2 separate regions of the Homo sapiens genome follow, and region 1 is linked to region 2. The links are contacts of gene promoters, found by promoter capture Hi-C in human tissues and cell types (Jung and others, 2019). All regions are on one chromosome and are shown on one strand. Each heading gives the region's core, a stretch centred on a gene start or on the middle of the fragment in contact. The rest is flanking DNA. Distances are from core to core; before and after follow the strand shown. Region 1 overlaps LOC105372437 (a long non-coding RNA gene). Region 2 holds the start of SHANK1 (SH3 and multiple ankyrin repeat domains 1).

The links. Contacts are between HindIII fragments. The study calls those that stand out against the background at their distance.
Region 1: a contact is called between a fragment that was not itself captured here and the fragment with the promoter of SHANK1 in region 2, in 1 of the 25 tissues and cell types used here (dorsolateral prefrontal cortex).

Annotation. Positions count from the first base shown.
Region 1 is chr19:50,346,807-50,350,533 of GRCh38, reverse strand. All of the region lies in intron 2 of LOC105372437 (a long non-coding RNA gene), which reads right to left. Among named protein-coding and RNA genes, the nearest start is that of NAPSA, 17 kb to the left of the region's middle. RefSeq lists an enhancer at 3,064-3,213. The HindIII fragment of the contact is 3,847 bases long and covers 1-3,179 here.
Region 2 is chr19:50,718,250-50,722,323 of GRCh38, reverse strand. SHANK1 (SH3 and multiple ankyrin repeat domains 1) reads left to right here and starts at 2,522. Exons shown (of 24, transcript NM_016148.5): 1 at 2,522-2,918. The HindIII fragment of the contact is 4,964 bases long and covers 1-3,249 here.

The DNA of each region.
Region 1 (3,727 bases), core at 7-2,506, 370 kb after region 2:
TGAGACCAGCCTGGCCAACATGATGAAACCTAGTCTCTGCTAAAATCACAAAGATTAGCCAGGCGTGGTGGCACACAGCTGTAATCCCAGCTGCTTGGGAGGCTGAGGCATGAGAATCGCTTGAACCTGAGAGGCAGAGGTTGCCGTGAGCTGAGATCATGACACTGCACTCCAGCCTGGGTGACAGAGTGAGACTCTGTCTCAAAAAAACAAAACAAACAAAAACCACAGCATTAATAGGCTTGGGAGGCCCCCTGATACAGATATGGCTTAGATCACAATCCTCAAGTCCTTTTGAATACCTGGAAAGCCTTCCCAAGAAGGACAGGTACAAACAAGTCTACATGCTGCCTGCCGACCTCAGAGTTCTGGGAAGGTGGAGCGAATGAGTCGGACTATCAAAAATAGTTTAAGGAAAGTATGTCAAGAGACAAGATTAAAATGGATACAGGCCCTTCCTATGGTATTGTTTAAAACAGGTGCACCCCCTCTAAGAAAACAGGACACTCCCCTTATGAAATATTATATCATAGGCCTCCTCCTATGCCGCGAGGGCTTCTGGGTACTCCCCAAGAGTTGGGTGAAATTGAATTGCAGCGACAGCTACAGGCCTTGGGGAAAATTACCGAGACAATCTCAACTTGGGTAAATGAGGTGCCCGGTCAGCTTATTCTCCCCAGTTCACCCTTTTTCTCCAGGTGACCGCGTGTGGATCAAGGACTGGAACGTAGCTCCCTTAGGGCCATAGTGGAAGGGACCCCAGACCGTTATCCTGACCACTCCCACGGCTGTGAAGGTAGAAGGAATTCCGGCCGGGATTCACCACAGCTGCGGAAAGCCTGCAGCCACTGGAACCTGGGAGGCCAAACCAGGCCTAGACAATCCCTGCAAAGTAACCCTGAGGAGGACGACAAGCCCTGCTCCAGTCACACCCGGAAGCTGACTGGCCTATTCGCGGCCGAAGCATGAGGAAAATCGTCGTGGGACTTACTTTCCTTATAACACGGACTTGTGTGGTAAAAGCTTCCACTGCTTCTTCCCACACAGAGGACTGCTTTCAGTGCATACCTCAGGTCACTGAGGTAGGACAACAAGTTAAGACAATCTTTTTGTTCTATAGTTATTATGAAGGCCTAGGAATTCCAAAAGGAACATGTTTGTATAATAACACTCAGTACAAAGTCTGTGATCCAGGAAGTGACCAGCCCGATGTGTGCTATGACCCCTCTGAACCTCCCATTTCCACAGTTTTTGAAATAAGATTAAGGACTGAACACTGGCAGGGACTCATAAATGATACAAGTAAAGTATTAGCCAGAACAGAAGAAAAAGGGGTGCCCAAATGCATAATCTTAAGATTTGACGCTGTGCTGTCATTAATAGCAATAAGTTAGGAGCAGGATGTGGCTCTTTTAATTAGGAAAAAACTACATGACCGAAAATAAGTACATCTGTCATGAATCAGGATTGTGTGGAAAAGAATGTGGGTACTGGTCTTGTGTCATTTAGGCTACTTGGGAAAAAAAAAATGAAAAAGATCCTGTTTTGCTCCAAAAAGGGAAAGGAAGCCTGTCCTGCATGAGTGGAAGCTGCAACCCTTTAAAATTAGTAATCACAAGCCCCTCAGACCCAAAATAGAAAAAAGGAAAATACTTATCTCTAGGCATTGATGGAAAAAGACTAGACCCTAGGGTAAACATTTTAATAAAAGGAGAGGTTCGAACATGCTCTCCAGAGCCAGTATTTCACACTTTCTATGATGAACAAAATGTGCCAGTGCCTGAAATTCCAGGAAAAACTAGACATTTGTTTTTGCAGTTAGCCGAGCATGTAGCCCAGTCTCTAAAAGTCACTTCGTGTTTTGTTTGTGGAGCAACTGTAACAGGAGATCAGTGGCCATGGGAAGCCCGAGAATGAGTTCCTACAGACCCAGTTCCTGATGAATTCTCGGCCCAAAAGAACCACCCTGACAATTTCTGGGTTCTAAAAGCCTCAATTATTGGACAATGTTGCATAGCTAGAGAAGGAAAAGAATTCACTCATCCTGTAGGACAGGTTAGTTGTCTTGGACAAAAACTGTATAATGGTACCACAAAAACAGTTACATGGTGGAGTTCCAATTACACGGAAAAAAATCCATTCCGTAAATTTCCAAAATTGCAGACTGTTTAGGCCCACCCAGAATTCCACTGGGACTGGACTGCCCCTACTGGGTTATACTGGATATGTGGACATAGAGCTTATGCTAAGCTATCTGATCAGTAGACAGGTAGCTGTGTAATTGGCACTATTAAACCATCTTTCTTCCTGCTGCCCATAAAAACAACAAACTCTTAGGATTCCCTGTCTATGCTTCCCGTGAAAAACGAAGCATAGCCATAGGTAACTGGAAAGATGATGATGGCCCCCTGAAAGAATTATACAATACTATGGGCCCGCCACTTGGGCATAAGATGGCTCATAGGGATATTGGACCCCCATCTACATGCTCAACTGAATCATACAGTTGCAAGCTGTTTTAGAAATTATTACTAATTAAACTGGTCAAGCCTTGACTGTTCTTGCCCGGCAAGAGACTCAGATGAGGAATGCTATCTACCAAAATAGACTAGCTCTCGACTACTTGCTAGCAGCTGAAGGAGGAGTTTGTGGAAAATTTAACCTTACTAATTGCTGTCTCCACATAGATGATCAAGGGCAAGTAGTTGAAGACATAGTTAAAGATATAACAAAACTGGCACATGTACAGTGCGAGTGTGGCACGGATTTGATCCTGAGGCCATGTTTGGAAATTGGTTCCCAGCAATAGGAGGGCTTAAAACTCTTATAATAGGAGTTATAATAGTAATAGGAATCCGCTTACTACTCCCTTGTTTGCTACCTATACTTCTTCAAATGATAAAAAGCTTCATCACTACCTTAGTTCACCAGAATGCTTCAGCACGAGTATATTATTTGAATCACTATCAATCTATTGCACAGGAAGACATAAGTAGTAAAAATGAAAGTGAGAACTTCCACTAATACCATGAGTGAGAGTCTCAAAGCGGGGAAATGAGAGAAGAGAGAAAGAGACCCCCCCATATTGTTCTATATTGTTTCATACTCAGTACCTGTTTTAAGAAGAAACAAGGAAGCGAAACCAAAGGCAGGCAGCCCGGCGCCATGCACCAGACCCAAAACCAGACCCAAAACCAGGCCTGGGCCTGCCTGACCTTAGCCTGATAGTTAAAATTCAACCCATGACCTAGCAACCGATTATCCATAAATTCCAGACATTGTATGGAAAGACATTGTGAAACTTCTCGTTCTGTTCTGCTTTGCTCTGATTACTGGTGCATGCAGCCCCTGTCACATACCCCCTAGATTGCTCAATCAATCACGGTCCTTTCATGTAAAATCTTTAGTGTTGTGAACCCTTAAAAGCGACAGAAATTGTGCACTCAACAAGCTTGAATTTTAAGATGCTAGTCTGCTGATGCTTCCAGCTGATTAAAAGCTACTTCCTTCACTATCTCGGTGTCTGTGGGGTTTTCTCCACAGCTTGTCCTGCTACACTAGAATAGCATATCCAGTGAAAATATTCTTCAAGCATGAAGGAGAAATAAAGACTCTCCCAGAACAAACAAAGCTGAGGAATTTCATCAACACCGGATCTGTCCTACAAGAAATGCTAAAGGGAGTACTTCAGTCAGAAAGAAAAGCATGTTAATGAGTGATAAAAAAT
Region 2 (4,074 bases), core at 1,273-3,772:
AGAACCCTTTGCACCTCTGCAGCCTCATCACCCCCATTCCCTTCACCCACCCCCAGCCTCCACCTTCCCTGGCCTCTTGGCTCATCCCCAAATACTAAGCTGATTACAACCTCAGAGCATTTGCACTAGCCCTTTCCTCCTTCTAGAAGCCTCTTTCCCCAGCTCCTTCTCATCATCGAGGTCTCAGCTCCAGGAGGTCTTCCCCAACCACCTTATCTATTCCGCAAGTTACTTTATTAAAATGCCCCATTTCATCTTTTTGGTATAATCAAGACTGGCATGATCTTGTTTGTTTATGTCTGTTCCCTGCCAATGAAAGCAGGGATTTTTATGCACTGATGCATCTCCTAGCACAAGGCCTACCTAGCACATAGTAGGTGTTCAATCAACCTGTTGAGTGGGCGAGAGGGTAGCCGTTCCTGGTGGGGTCAAAGGCCTGGAAGCTTCACCTCTTTGGTTTGCTGGCACCCAAGTTCCCAGGGTGGTGGTGGCAGGGTAGGTAGAGGTGGTGAGGGCAGTGGGAGAGAGGCTTGGAGGCAAGGAAGAACAATGCCATGCCATGCCCCTCTATGTCAGGCCCATGAGTCATGCAGGGCTTTTCCCGCCCAGGCCTGGCTGGTGGTGCCAACAAGCATGGGGCACACCAGCCAAGGATCACTGGGCCTGCTCTTCAAAGGAGGAGACCGAGGCTCTGAAACAGCATAGCCTGCTGGAGGTCACCAGTGTGGCGGCAGCTAGCCAAGGTTTCTGGCTCCAAGAGCAGGGCATCTGCCCTCGGCTGCCGGGAGCCCCAGGAGGGGCCTTGGAAATCAGTGCCTCCAGCCTTCCGTTTTCCAAGAAATCCTGGTACATCGAGGGCACTGTGACCTTGGGCAGACTGCTCCCTGCCTCAGAGCCTGGGCCTCTCAGGTGCCCATCGGGAACCTGGGGCCCCTCACCAGGAGCTACAGACCTCAAGAAATAATGCGTATGTGGGGAAAGGCCTTGTAAAGTGTGCAGGGGTGCACAGCCTCTCTGGCTGCTGGAGCCAACATGGGCAGCTGTGCTTTCCCCGGGCCCAGCTGCTCACCACCTGGGCTAGTGGGTACGCATCAAGATAGAGGCCTCCCCAGGCTGAGCAGGCACCTCCTCCAGCTCATACTCGGGTACCCCGGAGAGCCTGCAGCTGGAGGGGAACCCAGAAGCTGCCTAGAACTGCCCCCTGCAGGCCCTGGAGGTGCTGTTGGAGCTGGGAGAATGAGGAAGCCTGGGCTAAGGGGACACTCACCACTCACTGCTGCCCTGTGGGATCTGCTCTGTCCCTGTGGGTGCGTCCCAGGCATGAATGAGCTGTCTGCCTGCAGCTGGCTGCATATGCGTGCCTACACAGACATGTGCAAACTCTGAGGAGACGGTTGGGTGTGTCTGTGTGTGATGAATAAGGATATGCAACTATGAGGGGATATGCCCAGTAGTGCACCATAGTTGTCAAGTGAGGACTTTGGAGCCAGCCTACCTGTTCCTGATCCTTGTTACCACCTCCTTACAGCTGGATGACCTTGGGCAAGTTACTTAGCCTCTCTGTTCCTTGGTTTCCCCCTCTGGAAAATGGGGATGGCGAAAGTCCCTGAGCCTGGCACACAGAAAGTGCTCCAGGAATGTCAGCAGTAACTATCCTGGAGGGGAAGGATGGCACGGTGTTGGGCATGTAAACGGGTGAGTGCGAGCCAGTGCAATGGACAGCACGGTGGGTGGGTGTGATGGGAAGGCGTGCACACGTCTCTACAGTGCTGTAACTCCGTTTTGGTGTTGAGAGATCTGGGCATGCATACCGGGGTGAACGCCTGTGTGCGTGTGTGCGCGCGCACGTGCGTGTGTGGTGGGCAAATGTGTGCATGTGCTGCGTGTGTGCCCGGGCACAGGGGTGTGACAACTGCATGTAGCTGGGTGTGTTTGTAGCTGTGTACCCCAGGTGCATTGTGTCTGGGCATGCATGCGCTGGAGAGTGTGTGTATGTGGGGACTCTGCAGGTGCCGTTACAGCTGGTGACTATGCACCTGTGCCTTGGGGAAATGTGGCCTGGCCCAGGTATGTCCACGTGTGCCCTGACCCAGTGCTTAAATGGAAAGGGTGTGTGTGTGTTTGGGGGGACAGGGTGGGAATCTATAGCCTTCACACTTAAATTTGGGGGTGTAGAGTCTGGCAACAAATATTTATTGTGCCCCACTCTGTGTAGGGCGGCGGGGAGCTCTCTGGGAGGGGGTGGTCCTGAGGTGTGTGTGGGGGGGCACCTTATGGGGGCAGGACCCCTTCCTCGGGGTATGGGAGCAAGCAGGGGCGGAGTCAGGATTTGGGGACTCGGAGGTGGGGAGGAGTGGTGGGGGAGGGCAAGGGTAGGGGGCGGAGCCGGCGGTGGTGGGGGATGGGCGAGGTTTGGGGGCGCGGGGAGGGGCGATGTCTCCTCCGCCGGCTCCCGGAGGGAGGGGAGAGGGCGGAGGGAGGGGAGGGAGGGAGAGAGGGAGGGAGAGAGACAGGGTGAGGGAGAGACAGCGAGAGCGAGAGAGCGAGAAGGGTGGCAGAGGAGGCGCGGAGCGGGCGGCGGCGGCGGCGGCCCGAGGAAGAGGAGGAGGAAGAGCAGGCGGAGACGCGGCGCCCGGAGCCGGCCGGACCGAGCCGGGGGCGGGCGAGGAGGGGCGCGGCGGCCGCGGCGGAAGGGGGGGCGCTCTGCGGATGGCCAGGCCCGGCCCGCGGGGGGGGTGAGGTCCTCGGCCCTCCCGCCCTCCCCCCCGGTCCCCGCCCGCCCCCTCCCCGGGCCCGCTCGCCCTCCGGGGCGGTGGGGCATGGCCTGAGGGTCCCCGTCTCCGGGGGGGTGGGGGGTGGGGGGAGGGGGGAGGGGCCGCGGGCGCCGCCGACCGGGACTCAGCAGCCCCGCCAGGCAGGTAAGGGGGTCGAGAACCTGGGGGTTTGGGGCAGCTGCGGGGCCGGGGCCGCGGGAGGGGGCGAGGGCGCCCCGGATGTCCTTGGCCCGGCGCCGGGCTCCTGGCCTGGGTGTGCGGCTGGGGGTACGGGTGAGGTGGGGAGCGTTGCCCTGGGCGACACCAAATTGGGTTACGCCCGGGTCCCCGGTGCCCCGTCCCAGATCGCATCCTTGATGGGAGGGCGCGCCCCCCACCCCCGGCCAGCAGAGCCCCTATCCCGAACCCGCCTCCCGGCTCTCCGGGGCCAAGGGCTCGGTCCTGGTACCCGCCTCCCCGCCCAGCCCGGCCACTCCCCCGCCTCGCCCTCCCTGGCGTACCTGGGCCCCTCCGCCAGGTCACCCTGGTCCCCACTCCCCTCCAGCGAGGGTCTAGGCCCGGGCCTCCTCCGCCCCTTTCGACCCCTCCAGCTCCCGCTTCTCCTTCCAGGCTCCTCCAGTCCCTTTCCACCCCTGTCCAAGCTCCCTGCGTCCCCACCAGGTCTCCAGTCCCTACACCGCCGGCCGGCGCGCCCCCTCGGCTCCCGCCCCCGACTCCTGCTCCCCGGTGCCCCCCGCCCCTCTCCCCGGCCGGGTTCTCCCCCACCAGTTTCCCAGCCTCGGCTCCGGCTCTCTCTCCCCGCCCCTCCCCGCCTCCCTCCGCCTCCATTCATTCTCCCCGGCCCCGCTCTCGGCCACGCCAGCCGCCCCCTGTCCCCCCACAGCCTCCCAGGGCACCCCCTCTCTCGCGTCCTCCACCACCCCCCTCGCCGATTCCTCAGCCCGTCTCGGTACCAGCTGCGTGCCAGCTATTCTTAGCCGCGGAGCGTTTGATTCATGCCGCCCCGGCGGAGCGTGCCCGCTCCCTCCCGCGAGCCCTGAGGGGGAGGGGCCGGAGCCGGCCCGGGGGGGCTGGGGCAGCCGTACGCGCGGGGGGCCCTAGCCAGCTTTTCTTTCATCCCACCGGCCACCCCCTCCGAGCGGGGTTGAGGCTGGGGGTCAGCCAGGGTCAGCCGAGGGGGAGTGTCTGCGGGCCCCAGATCGCGAGGTGGGCTGTGCGGCGGGGCAGGGAGGAGGCAGCCGGGGTCTCCGCAGGGACGAGGTGGGGCGGCGTGGCTGGGTACCTGGAGGGGGAGGGGGCT